Regions from separate parts of the Homo sapiens genome. Here regions 1, 3, 4 and 5 are each linked to region 2. Evidence: promoter capture Hi-C in 16 types of primary human blood cells and fetal thymus (Javierre and others, 2016). All regions are on one chromosome and are shown on one strand. Each heading gives the region's core, a stretch centred on a gene start or on the middle of the fragment in contact. The rest is flanking DNA. Distances are from core to core; before and after follow the strand shown. Region 1 overlaps VSIG1 (V-set and immunoglobulin domain containing 1). Region 2 holds the start of PRPS1 (phosphoribosyl pyrophosphate synthetase 1). Region 3 has its middle 25 kb from the start of VSIG1. Region 4 holds the start of PSMD10 (proteasome 26S subunit, non-ATPase 10). Region 5 holds the start of TEX13B (testis expressed 13B).

Region 1 (2,700 bases), core at 80-2,579, 440 kb before region 2:
AGGTTTAAATTTGCCTGTGTGCATCATCAGTAGGGGAAGTCCATTTGGGGGGTGCACGCTACTCAGCACTGAAATATTTATTCATCCTTCACTCAGCAAGCACCCATGCCTTCTGTGGGCCTGGCATGGGACTAGGCACCAGGAATTCAAAAGTAACTTTCACACAGTTCTAAAGTGGGGTGGGAGAGGGATGAGAGATGACTTTAGAGAGGGGAAGAGGCCTCCAAGACCACAGCAGGAAGAACAGGTTTTAGGTGAAGGGGTGACAAGGAGGAAGGGGTACTAATGAGGTCAGTCCGGGACATAGAGTTTTAGCTGCTTATGAAAACATGTCAGGGGAGAAGTCCTGTGGGAAGCTGGGAATCTGAATCTCCTCATTCATCTTACTTACTTGCACGGTTTATTCTATCTTACATATCTTATACATTTATATATCTATCATATCTACATATCTATCTTATATCTCTTATCTTAGATATTTATTTTATATCTATACATCTATCTTATACACCTTATATATCTATCTTATATACAGACAATGATGTAAATTTCTATACTTTCCAACTCACCTTGCTTATCTTCATTTTGCTCTAGAACCCTTTAAAGCTTAGGTTCTCTAATTTAGGTGAGTTAGACATGAAATGTGTCATATTACTCAGTCCTACAGCTCTTACCTGAGACGCAGTGGTTAAGGGCACAGCTCTGGATCCACACAGAATACGGGCTTTGTAACTCTACCCTGGATCTGTATAGGCAAGTTACCTAACTTAGCCAAACCTCAGCTGACTCATCTGTAAAACGTGACTAAGAGATTATCTAACCTCTGGCTGATCCAAGTATTAAATACAATAATAAATATAGGGCCTAGAACCTGGAATTTCTGTTGGCCACAGCAGCACTAATTCCTGCTACTAAAGTTACTCTCCCATTGACTTCCGCTCAGTTCAGCCTTCCCAGACTCTCACTATCTGTACACAGGTGCGAGAAGACAGATGCATATAGCTATAATTCTTAAACAGTTTACTAGCCCTATCTTTTAAGCATGTGTCTTTTTAATTGAAAGGAATATCCTTCTACTTAGTTCTTTATTCTTTCTTATCAAAGATTTTCTCAGGTAGGAACAACTTGTTGGATGTGCCTATCCTAAACTAAGCTATTTAACCAGAAGTCCATTGCAGCTATCACTAGATTTAGATACTGCCTTTTTAAAAAGATGGCTATTGTATAGCCTTTACAGCAGAATAGAACAATTTGAACAGAAAATTAAATGGGGGTGTTTCATCACAAAGTTGGACACCAGGACTTGAACTAAATTATGGCAAAAACCTGGAATGACTTGCACTCATTTCTTGAGCCCAGAATCAAACCCAGATAGGCATTTTTTTTGCTTAGAATATTTTTCTCCTTTTATTTTTTATTAACAAAACATTTAGTGAATCACTTTGAACCAAGTCCCAAACCTATATATTTTCTAAAACTACTGACCCAGGATTGAACTGAAATTTCATCCAGTTAAAGTCCCCAGTGGAACTTGGGTATTTTACTGGCAAAGCCATTGATCTACCATTTAGCTTTATTGCTTTCAACAGAATTGGGGTGGGAGGAAAAGGCTCAGCTCAGAAAAAAAAAGAAAAAAGAAAAAACAAAGTGCTTCAGTAGGTTCTTAAACCTTCCCTAAATCAATCATTTTCTTTTTATGTGCCAAATTGCGGAAGGTAGATGATGCTCATTCCAAATGCACACAAAATAATTATTCAAACTTGATCTGGGTATTTTTCAGAGATTAATTTTCCAAGGTTGTCATACCTAATGGAAAGCTCTCAAATGAATGGCCATCCAAACCACCTGGTTCTTTGCCCATTGCTGTTTCCTTCACCTAAACTGTGCCTTGCCATCTCAGCCCCTCTTCTTCATCACACACTCTTGCACATCCTTCAACATTCAGCACAAAAGTCACTTTCCTCAATAAGCCTTCTCCAATTCCTGATACAGCTTTTTGCCCTTTCCCCTGTGCCCTCATAGCTCTCCTCTCATACCTCCACTGAAAGCTTTTATGTTACGCGTCTGTCTCCTTCACTAGACTGAATTTTAGAGGGCTAAGACCCTATCTTTTACATTTCCCCATGTCCATTGCTTAGCACAGTAACTGGCACGTGTGCTCAGGGTTTGTTAAATGAATTCATGCATGAACGAGTAAATGCATGGGATTGATGCTCACTGCTGGGTAACAAAACATCTGAAAGATACATTGCTATGAGAGTCATCTTTAAGGAAATATCAACACCTCTCCCCACAATTAACCTGTCTCTCTTACCCACCTGTCCCCATCTTGCCTCACCTTTCAGTCAGGGCAAGCAAAATTGTCACTCATATACAATGAGATTTGAGAATTGCAAATAGTCGCTGCAATTTTTAGAGAAAATTAGCAGTCTCAAATTTTCCAAAAAGCCTACATTTGGAGGAGGCCTTTGTTCTTTGCCCAATTAACAAAAACAATATTTTTTAGAGTTCCTAAACAAACAAGGAAATCCACAGACCCTTCTGCCTCTTACCTTGTCTGGATCCTGGCTGCTTAAGGAAAAGTCATGACACAGAGCTATCTGACACAAAGACTCATGGGAAAAAACACCTCTGAGATGAAGTGACCCTCAACTTCTTATGGAAATTGATTTGGGATCCTCTGAGCTTTAAATTTAAGAA
Region 2 (2,700 bases), core at 24-2,523:
CACTGAAATAATCAGGTAACCAAGTCATCTCTAAAACAGTCCCATGGTGCCGGTAGAGGGTGTAAGTCGGAGTCGAGGAAGCAAGTTTTACTGGCAAGGCAATGGAAAAAACGCAAGTTGCAATGCACTGTCCAATCCTAGTCTTCCACTACATTGCCTGTCCTCAATTATCTTTAACATTCAGGTATAAAATTGTTTCCTAAATTCCCTACACAGAGCTTAAAGAAGGAGCCAAGTCCAGGATGGACTCGGTTACTGAAAAATACGCTTTTGCATTATCTGTACCACTAGCTGCACTGGGGAAGGTCAAACATTCCAGAATTGAGATTTCCAAGATTTTTTGGATGGCTCAAGCTGAGATGCTGGCTATCAAGGATGCAGAGTCAACGCATCACTTTAACAAATCAACTAGATTTATGGCTCCAATTACTCAGGTAGATGATTCATAAGATGAGAAAAGCCAACGCTTGCTGATCTAAGGGAAGTCGTAATAATTTTGGCGCCTGCAGTATATAATGTCAGTTTCCCTCAACACCAAGCCGAACGGACCAACACCATTTCGAATCAAAAAGCTGCTTATTGGACTCTAGGAAAAGAAAGACCAGGAGAGCTCAGTACGCAGGTAGGCTCTCTAAATGCAAGCTAGTCTAAGAGCTGAAGCAACCCAGTCCAGCCTGGGTGGCTCAACAGCAAAGCCAAGCCACGTGTCCCTACCGCCCTGGCTAAGCGTCGGTCCCCTCTCGTCGCTCTATGCAGCCACTATCTATTGGGTCCCCCAGCCCTTGCCCTCAAACGCAGAAGCTTCGCCTCACACTCCATCTTTTGACTCCACCCCACCGCACGGTAAGAATGAACGTGACCCTCCCGCGAGAGGTAAAATAACGGAAACAGCCCGTGGGGTAGGCTAGTCACAGAGCTGCACCCTCTCCCCCCAACCCCCAGTCTGTTTGAGCTCAAGCGGCGACCCCATCCCTCCTATACTCTGCCGCCTGGGCAGGTGAGGTCTAGTCAGGGTCCCAACTTGGTCCTTACCAGGTCTCCTGGTTGCTGAATTTCTTAGTCACCACCTTGCCTAGCTCCAGGCCCAGGCGGTCAGCAATTTTCTGAGATAAGTCCTGGTGGGAGCTGCCGCTGAAGATTTTGATATTCGGCATCCTGGCCAACTACCCTAAGCACTCCACTAAGCGATCACGGCTGCTGCAGAGACCGGAACCGAAGTCGGCCACAGACTCAATACCAAGCGCTTTGCGTTGCTACTCCGCCATCTTACATTCCCGCCCGGCGCGCGGCTCTAAATTACCCAAAGCGGCGGAGGTGGGGTCAGCGGCGAAGTCCACACCCCGCTGGCAACGATTAGCTAAGAGGGAGCGAAGGGCGGGGTTTGGTCCTCGGTGTAGCTCTGCCTCCTTCCGATTCTCTCAGGTATTGGGTGAAGAGCATGAACGGGGGCGAGACTAACCCATAGCCCGGCCCCCTGTAGCTAGGCTGTTGGGGACAGGAGACGTTGGACTGGGGGTGGAGGGATGCTGGTGACGTCTGAGGCCAGATCGTTCCCGCTAGCGGGAAATCAACCATGCCTGCTTTTTTATTTCCCCTCCCTCAGCGCAGGAAAGTAAGTCTGGCTCTGGTTTACAGTTTCCTTTAAGAAAATCTGTTTATCAGGATGACAGCCACGAGTTTGCATGTTTCTGAACACATTTTTTATCTCTTTATAAGGATGGGGCTGAATTAAAACACTTTTACATCACAGACGTGCATGCAAGGAGTTTGCTTGCCCATTGTAATTGCAGTGTCGCCTTTGCCTGCAAGACAGTTTACATGGGGGAAGTGACTGAAGGCATGCCACCTGAATCATCCAAGAGACACTGCAAGAGAAAGTTGTTTTGTTTCTAGTGCTGGAACCAAGTATGTTGAAACAAGTGAAGGAAGATGGATTTTCCAAACTATCTGGACAATAAAGATCTAACTTTTATAGCCCTCGGAAAGGAAAGAAAGTATAGTGTTCTATGGGACTTCAGATAAAGAGCCCTGAAGGGATTTGAAAAAACCTGGGTTTTAGTCCTGTCTGCCTCATGTAAGCCTCAATGTCATCAGCTACATGTTGCTAATGTGGCCTTTTACACCATGTTTTATTATTTTTATAGCGATACTTGTTAATTGGACCTAAGTGAGCCTTTATTCTTGCACCATGTTTCCATTAAGCATATTTTAAGCATGGGTTAGGAGAAGATAAAAATCATACAATTCTGGAATCAAAAGTGACCATAGTGCTCATAACTACCAAATGTAAAAATAGAAGGGACCTCAGAGATCATATAGTCGTTTTACATATGATAAAACTGAGATGGAGGTGGGAGAGGGATTTATCTAAGTGGCAAAGGCAGAAAATACTCAAAGCAGCATCCTGTCTTTGTCTTACTGCTATTTTCAGCAGTGTCCATGGAGGACTTCTCCTTCTGACCTTTTTTGCACTTTTACAAGCTCAGAAATTTAATGTAGGCCCATGTATATAGGAATACTTGGAGAAGGAAGTAAACTGCAAGGCAGAATATTAGTAGTCTTCCATCATAGGCCATTCATCAAATATTTACTGAGTGTTCTATTGCATGCAAGGCAGTGTGCAAGGCGTTGAGGGGACTACAAAGTATTTGCCCCAAGGGATTCGTTCATTCAATAAATATTTAGTGAACATTCTTTATG
Region 3 (2,700 bases), core at 63-2,562, 390 kb before region 2:
AACCCAATTTAGACTTCCCACTTCAAAATGGTGGCATAGAAACAAGCTGGTTTTACTTCCTACCCTCAAAACCAAAAACAAATATACGGCATTGAGATTATCACCAGCAACATCCCAGAACTCAAATATGAGGATAAGACAGTTCCCAGGGCAGCAGAGAAGTGAAAAAAACTCTGAGCAGATGTTAGAGGATCAAACTTCCATATTTGTGATGCCCTTTCCCCCAATCTGCCCAGCACTAAGTGCATAGAAAAATTTCCCCCAACTCATAGTTTCCACACTGGAAAAAGTATGATTGAGGTAAACAACAGCTTCCCATCATCTTAGGTTACCTGACAGGAGACCTGTCTCTGCCTCAACTCATGGGAAGCATTGAGAGTACCTGAAGAGAGGAATATTTCTGTAGACAGCCACAGACAAGTAGGGGAAGTGGGACTGCCATCCTCAGCCCTGGAAACTCTGCTGTGTAAATCAGTCAAGAGATGCCAAAACAGATTAGCTGTTCAGCAGCACCATGCTGTAAGAGGTTCATTCCACAGATCTCCAGGCATGAACCCCTGACCAGTCTTCCCATACTAACAGGATATCCTATTTGGGACCTTCCCCATTTCGGACTGGTGGCACCCTGATTGAGTACCAGAACTGAGGAGGCAAACCTGAGCTTAATTAAGGCGCCATCTAGTGCAAAAAAAGAGGCAGTGACCTAGTGGGAAAAAAGATAACAGGTAAATTGCAAAGAATCTCTAATCAAACATATTTAATAAAAACCAAAACAAGCCAGACAGAGAAGACTGGTATAAGTAGCTAATCCTTCACTGCAAAGACATAGATGTACATACACAAGAAACAACAGCAAACACAAAACCAAGACCTCCTCAAACAGACAAAGCAAGCAACCAGTGATTCACACCCTAATTAGATGATGATATTTAACCTCTCTGACCAAGAATTCAAAACAGTAGTTTTAAGGAAACTCAGTGATCTCCAAGATAACACAGAAAAGCAATTCAGAAATTTATCAGAAAAATTTAACAGAGATTGATTTTTTTAAAAAATCATACAGGAATCACTGAAAAATACTTTTGCTGAAATGAAAAATTTATTAGCGGCTTCCAATAGCCAAATGGATCAAGCAGAGGAAAGAATCAGTGAGCTCAAAGACAGGCTATTTGAAAATACACAAAGGGAAAAAGAAAAAAAGGTAAAAGGAACAAACATCACCTACAAGATATAGAAAATTACCACCTGGTGAGGCGTTCAAATGGTTGATTAGAGGCATCTCTTACTTGCCTCCTCCACTAGGAAAAACCAAAATAGTGAGTAGATAATCACACTTTGAATAGATCATCAGAGAGAATACTGAAATTCAACACAGAAGTGGCAGGAAACACCCAGAGCAAGAAAGGAGAAGGAAGCAAGTTGGCCTCCTAACCAAGATCGGCTGGGAGCCAGGAGAGACTCTCCTGTGTGGGGAAAGGATAAGCGAGAGACTCCCAGTGGCTCCTGCTTCAGGTTCCTAAAATCCTAGCCGTGGTAGAGTCCCCCAATCCTTGCTGGCCGAAGACTAACATAGAAAGTTCCCTGGAAACTGTGTGAAGGCATTGTTTCAGAGGGAAAACTCATGCTGGGTCCCACAAACCCCCAAGTTCTAAGTAGTGTCAGCATAGCACCATTTTGAAAGCCCAACCCACACCAGACTACATGCTGCCCTGCAACTAGGGCTGAGGCAGAAGCCACAGAAAACAATTCTAACCTCCCCCGAAGAGGGGTGGCTGCACATTCTCATGTGCAAAGGACAGATTCCACTGCCTGCAACTGCTGCAGCTGCAGACACTGTGGGCCAAGGTACAAGTGAAGCCCATGCCCCTCAACTCTCTGCCTATGGCTGCTCCCATGGAAGGCAACCTCAACCTGTTCAATATCAGGGCTGCAGCACAGCCATGCCACCTCCACCTGATCATTCCACTGGTGGCATAGGGCTCACCCTGCCCATGCATACAAAAGCCAGCATTTATATGCAACACGGGGGGGCAGGGTTGAAGCACAATTTGGCCAGGCTACCTCCACCCCAGTACACAAGCACATCAGGGACTGCAGGTCACACAGCCCAGTTCACCATAGTGGCACCTGAGTAATCCTCCTGGAGTCTGAAGTCAGGCACACTCAACCTCTGCTATCACCACAACTGGCACCCACTTGCACATTGCCACTCACAGTTCTGGGCACCAGCCCTCTCAACCCATCACAGCTCCTGCCAATACCAGAGTGGAACACTTATATCCCAAAGTGTTGTCTCACCACTGGTACCGACATTGCCCCTGCTATGCTCACTGCCCAGGGGCTAGAGAACCTGTTCACCTGCCTGGCCCACTGCTGCCACTTCCAGCACCCAATTAAGCCACCTGGAGGCCCCAGAATTAGCTTACCTGGACACACTAACAGTGGTGCCAGCATATGCTGCCCTGAAGCCCAGGAACAGGAGCACTCAGTGCACCGTTACCACCACGAGGGCCCAAAGACTAGCTTACCTGTCATCCCAGTCCCCAGCAGAACTTCACTGTAACCTCCACTAATAACCACACCCTAAGCCACAAAGGAAATGACAGACACCACTGACACTGTTTACAGACAAAGAAATCATACAGAGACTACACTACTTCATGCACCCAGAATCAAAGCCAAAGTGCCCTACTCAAGTAA
Region 4 (2,700 bases), core at 106-2,605, 460 kb before region 2:
CATTTTCAAAGATTAAATAGGTAAAAATTTCCTAACAGATCAGCATTAACAGATGAACACTTAAAATCAATTTTGACAATAGGGAACACTAATTCTGAGCCCCAATTAAGCAAAATATTATCCCCTAAAAAGAATTCTATTCTTCTCATTGGTAGTCTTCCTGTATTACAAAAAAAGTACTCAATTACTATTATATTTTGAATTTCATCAATAAAAATTTGTTGAAATTTGTTTTCTCTTTTGTCATAAAAGTACCAACAAAATATTCTTGATTTTGCCTTTTGGCCTACAAAGCCTAAAATATTTACTATCTGGCTCTTTACAGAAAGTTTCCCAACTCCTGTTCTACACTATAACAGGATAAACATAAACATCATGAGTCTCTTTCTTGAATGTATTCTTATCGTTACCTAGTTGTGGCATAATGTCCTCTGGATATGCCCTATAAAGGATCAGTCTTGCATTGCTTCTGCTATGGCACTATTTGGGATTTCTATAAAAAGAAACACTATTAGCTTAATAGTTGTAGCAAAGCCTTGACAACATAGTTAATATCGTGATATTAAAATGCCAACACCACAGCCCGGTATCCTTAAGATGACCCTCATCAAGCTGTGATGTCACCAGGCTATGGACTCACCGAGGTCTCTTAGATATCAGGTGGCTCCCACGGCATCACACCCTGCCTTTGGCATCACCCTGGCACATCACCTCAGTACGGTGCCATATGCTATCACTGCTGTGGTAGAACCCTGTCCTGATGCCACACCGCCGAGATGTCAGAGTAATTAACCCCCACTTCTTTCCACTCCCTAGGCGGTGGCAGGGAGGGGGAGGGTAGCCACAGTCACCGGTTCGAGCTCAGTAGGTAGTACTCAGCTCCAACCCTTGTCCCTTCCGCCTGCCACTGCAGGTCAGGAACCCCGGGGGACAGGACCTTTAGGCTCTCATAACTCTTGCCCTGCCCCCGAACCTGTTTCATATGGCCGACTCAACGACCCGCCAGCGACTACCCACCCCGGCTCTTTCACACGGTTCCACTCAAAGCCGCTCCCCGTACCTGACTCCATTCTCCAGCTGTCATCCTGGGCCAATTCCACCGGCAACTTGACTACGGACGGACGGTCGCTAGGATCCCTGGGACTTGTAGTTCTGCACTGCTAGGGGCCAAGTCTGTGAGGGCAGCAAAGGCGCCTCCCTGCCCGGAACTGCTCTCAAACTGCAACTCCCAGAGGCGCCGCGCGACGGGAAAAGAAAAGGGAACGAGGAAGGCCGGTGATTGGTGAAGCTCTAACGGCTGTTTTGACTGGCGTAGCCGGAGCCGGCGACGTGAGGCGGGCGTTGCTCGCGCGACAAGTAGTTGCTGGGACAGCGAAATGGAGGGGTGTGTGTCTAACCTAATGGTCTGCAACCTGGCCTACAGCGGGAAGCTGGAAGAGTTGAAGGAGAGTATTCTGGCCGATAAATCCCTGGCTACTAGAACTGACCAGGTAAAGCAACGCTAGGTCTCTCCGCAGTCGGCGACGTCGGCGAAGCCCTACGTGGCTTTCGGGGCCCGGCCCTAGCGGAGGCCCCGTTTCTGAGAGAAGCAGAACCCCGCCCCCGCCGCCCCAAGCAGTCCCCCTGGGTCACCTCGGGACTCGCGATAGGCCTGCGGGAGCTAGCCCCACAGACCTCAGATATTTTCCCGTTGGCCCGGAGCTCCGCTCCCTGATTTTTGGATAGTTCTAGAACGTCTACCGCATTTCTCAGAAACTCCCAATCAGTGAAAAGGAAGGCTTTTTATATGGATTTATTTACCTTTACTAGTAACTGTATTCAGTAACGCATGTGAAATTGAACGCCCCTTCCGTGCCAGGCAGTTTGCTAGGAGCTGGGGATACGGTGGAGTGGAAGATGCAGACAATAAAATAAGCACAAAAACATGTCCGATTACAAATTGTGGTAAATACTCGGCAGAGAAGTTTACATGGTGCTTTCAGAACACGTTAATAGGAGGATCTGATGCTGAATATGACTGTCGTTAATTGGAAAAGTTTTTGCAAAGAAGGGAAGGTTAGTTAGACTTTGAAGCATGAGTGGGATTTCCATGGGGGAATGAGTGGACATTCTAAGCAGAGGTAGACAGAAGTTTAGAAGTGTTTCTTTCTGCCCTCCTGCTCACAGGACTCTCGTGCTTTCATCCTCAGTTTCTAGGATTCATGGTGCCTTTAGTAAGCCCACAAATATTTATAGATGGCCTTGTGTTTCGCAGACAGTGTCGTAAGCACTAGTGAGACTGTCCCATACTTACAGATCTCCATTTTGTGTCTTTTGGGAGAGAATTAGAAATCAAGAGACTGTTTTCTCTTTTCTGGAACTTTCCTTTATTACTCAACCTGAAAATGGCCTTATCTTTACCTGGTTTACTTCATTATGGTCTGGTGATATTTAAGGATTTAAATTTAAATGTAATACTTTATATTAAGATTTAATACTCCATTGGAAATTTAACCATTCTTCAGTCAAGTCAGTGGCTTAAAAAGGGAAAGGAACTATTCAGCATCAAGAGACGTAAAAAACATGAAGAAATGCAATTTATGGATCTCGTCTGGTTCCTGATTTAAACAAACCAACTGCAAAAAGACATTTGGGAGACAGTTGGGGGCAATCTGAATACAGACCGGATATTAGACATTCTAAAGGAGTTAGTGTTAATTT
Region 5 (2,700 bases), core at 190-2,689, 350 kb before region 2:
AAATGTCAAGAATATTTTTTAAAGTACTGTATTCCTATTACCCAAAGATAACCACTGTTAAAGTGTTAGTATATAACTTTCCAGATTTGTGATGTATGCATACATATAGTTAGTTATATGCTCTTTGTAACAAGCGAAATTAGAGAAAAATGTATTTTAAAGTTAAAAACTTTTTTTCTAACCTCCAGTCCAACCCCACTTCCCAGAGATAATTAATGTTGAGTCTGCTATATATCCTCTCTCATTCTGTTCTCCAAGATTATAGAAACATACAAACATATGCAAACACACACATACACACAAATACGGGATCATAGAAAACATTACTCCTACAACTTTACATGCCCTTTTGTCATTGGCCATCATCATAGATCCATAGGTAGAAACAGATTCAGTTACAGTACAATGTCATGTAATACGTAGCAACGCTGGACTCAACCTGAGATTTGTCTGATTTATCTTGTGGGTCTCAGAAAGTCATTCAAGGTTTTCTTGTTTTTGTGTTTGTTTGTTTGAGACAGAGTCTCACTCTGTCACCCAGGCTACAGTGCAGTGGTGCGATCTCGGCTCACTGCAACCTCCGCCTCGTGGGTTCAAGCGATTCTCCTGCCTCAGCCTCCCGAGTAGCTGGGACTACATGCGCGTGCCACCACATCTGGCTAATTTTTTGTAATTTTAGTAGAGACGGGGTTTCACCCTGTTAGCCAGGATGGTCTCGATCTTCTGACCTCGTGATCCGCCCATCTCGGTCTCCCAAAGTACTGGGATTACAGGCATGAGCCACCGCGCCCGGCCGAAGGTTTTAAGAGACATATTCATATCCCTCTGATGGAAGATCTCTGATATTTCATGTTTTGGTAAAAAGGTGTATTTATGCTACTCCTAACTCTCTTTCTCCCACAGTTGCTTCAAGATTCAAGGCGTTTCAGTAGGGGAGGAGTGGGAGAAGGGGTGATGGGAGGAGTGTGGGGAAAGAGGAGCTAAGGGAGGAAAGGCAGGCCAGGATTTGTTAGGGTGTCTGGGATGTTTAGTCCTGAGCAAACAGGGGATAAGCTCCGCTCCTGGCTCCACCCTCTTCCTCCAAGGGCAACTGAGGGGTTGGGGCTGTTTCCTGCTCTAGAATATTCCAGTTGGGGGCGAAACTCCCCTGGCATGGCACAAACCATTATGATGGGGAGGGATAAGTCTTCAACTTGTTCACAAATACTTTTTTTGGTCCTAAGTCCTTCCGGACCACTCCTGTTTCTTTCAGCCTTCAAGGTCTCCCGACCATGTGGCAGGTTCCCTTTTGTCCCAGTGGAATGGCAGAGGCCTTCCTCACTCACTCCCTTTCACCCCTACAGTCTCTGGAAATTGGAACAGTCCCAGAGTAAAATCCTCATGGGTTGGCCCTGAGGCTTCTTTTCCCGCAGAGCCCTAGGAGGGAAAGAGGCCACCCTCTCTTCAGGCGTGTTAAGCAGCGGGGTTGGCCTGTACTTCCTCTGGCCCTGGCTGAAGAGGTGAGGCCTGGTGGGAGATGTCCTAGGGTAGGACAAGCCGGTCAGAGGGTCATTAGGAGGGTCTTGTCAGAGGTGGGAGGGCGGAGAAGACAGATGAGGGGAGGGGCTAAGGAGGAGGAAAGAAACCTATTGGCTGCTCCATCCACACAGGGCTAGTGAAACCGTTAAGCCCCTAGGCGATCATGGCCTTGAGACCTGAGGACCCCAGTAGTGGGTTCCGGCACGGAAACGTGGTGGCCTTCATCATCGAGAAAATGGCCAGGCACACGAAAGGCCCCGAGTTCTACTTCGAGAATATATCCTTATCCTGGGAGGAGGTGGAAGACAAGCTCAGGGCCATCCTGGAGGACAGCGAGGTGCCCAGCGAGGTCAAAGAGGCCTGCACCTGGGGCAGCCTGGCCTTGGGTGTGCGCTTTGCCCACAGGCAGGGGCAGTTACAAAACCGCAGGGTGCAGTGGCTGCAAGGCTTTGCCAAACTGCACAGATCAGCTGCGCTGGTCTTGGCCTCAAACCTGACGGAACTCAAGGAACAGCAGGAGATGGAATGCAATGAGGCGACCTTCCAGTTGCAGCTAACCGAGACCAGCCTTGCGGAGGTGCAGAGAGAGCGGGACATGCTGAGATGGAAGCTCTTCCATGCCGTAAGATCCCCCGAATGGTCCCTGTCCAATGCCTCTGCCCTGCCCCAACCTGTCCGGACCCCCTGCCCTGTCCCCAGAATGTGTTTCAGCTCTGCCTACTTCTCTCCAGGAGCTGGCACCTCCCCAGGGACAGGGCCAGGCTACAGTGTTTCCAGGCCTGGCCACTGCCGGAGGGGATTGGACAGAAGGAGCAGGTGAGCAGGAAAAGGAGGCGGTGGCTGCTGCTGGTGCTGCTGGAGGAAAAGGAGAGGAGAGGTATGCAGAGGCAGGGCCTGCCCCCGCAGAGGTCTTGCAGGGGCTGGGAGGAGGCTTCAGGCAGCCCCTCGGAGCTATTGTAGCAGGCAAATTACACCTTTGCGGGGCAGAGGGAGAAAGATCTCAGGTCAGTACAAACAGCCATGTCTGTCTTCTCTGGGCTTGGGTCCACAGTCTCACTGGAGCCTCTTCCTGTCCAGCTCCCTACCTCATTCACATACTCATACCCATGCCCTTTGTCCGCCTTCTCAGCCATACCCAATATACCCCCTTCACCAGCAAAGGTCACAGAACGGGTTCCAACT

Evidence for each region. The method cuts DNA at HindIII sites, captures the fragments that hold promoters and counts their contacts. A CHiCAGO score of 5 or more calls a contact.
Region 1: a contact is called between a fragment that was not itself captured here and the fragment with the promoter of PRPS1 in region 2, in 1 of 17 cell types (non-activated CD4 T cells). The highest score is 5.3, in non-activated CD4 T cells.
Region 3: a fragment that was not itself captured here is called in contact with the fragment with the promoter of PRPS1 in region 2 in 1 of 17 cell types (naive CD8 T cells); the score reaches 6.1 in naive CD8 T cells.
Region 4: the fragment with the promoter of PSMD10 here is called in contact with the fragment with the promoter of PRPS1 in region 2 in 1 of 17 cell types (total B cells); the score reaches 5.3 in total B cells.
Region 5: the fragment with the promoter of TEX13B here is called in contact with the fragment with the promoter of PRPS1 in region 2 in 4 of 17 cell types (total CD4 T cells, endothelial precursors, naive CD8 T cells and 1 more); the score reaches 7.2 in total CD4 T cells.

The regions. Positions count from the first base shown.
Region 1 is chrX:108,069,157-108,071,856 of GRCh38, reverse strand. All of the region lies in intron 3 of VSIG1 (V-set and immunoglobulin domain containing 1), which reads right to left. Among named protein-coding and RNA genes, the nearest start is that of PSMD10, 21 kb to the left of the region's middle. The HindIII fragment of the contact is 1,442 bases long and covers 609-2,050 here.
Region 2 is chrX:107,627,083-107,629,782 of GRCh38, reverse strand. PRPS1 (phosphoribosyl pyrophosphate synthetase 1) reads right to left here and starts at 1,273. Exons shown (of 7, transcript NM_002764.4): 1 at 1,033-1,273. The coding sequence starts at 1,154. RefSeq lists a silencer at 1,386-1,435. The HindIII fragment of the contact is 4,384 bases long and covers 804-2,700 here.
Region 3 is chrX:108,018,705-108,021,404 of GRCh38, reverse strand. It overlaps a transcript of VSIG1 not described here. Among named protein-coding and RNA genes, the nearest start is that of VSIG1, 25 kb to the left of the region's middle. The HindIII fragment of the contact is 5,748 bases long and covers 1-2,700 here.
Region 4 is chrX:108,090,197-108,092,896 of GRCh38, reverse strand. It overlaps PSMD10 (proteasome 26S subunit, non-ATPase 10), which reads left to right and starts at 1,355. Exons shown (of 5, transcript NM_002814.4): 1 at 1,355-1,490. The coding sequence starts at 1,377. It overlaps ATG4A (autophagy related 4A cysteine peptidase), which reads right to left and starts at 1,119. Exons shown (of 13, transcript NM_052936.5): 1 at 1,061-1,119. The coding sequence starts at 1,070. RefSeq lists enhancers at 917-1,156, 1,207-1,606. The HindIII fragment of the contact is 5,520 bases long and covers 1-2,700 here.
Region 5 is chrX:107,981,109-107,983,808 of GRCh38, reverse strand. TEX13B (testis expressed 13B) reads left to right here and starts at 1,439. Exons shown (of 3, transcript NM_031273.2): 1 at 1,439-1,499; 2 at 1,650-2,140; 3 at 2,250-2,700. The coding sequence starts at 1,682. It also overlaps the pseudogene LOC112267910 and the pseudogene NLRP3P1. The HindIII fragment of the contact is 6,409 bases long and covers 1-2,700 here.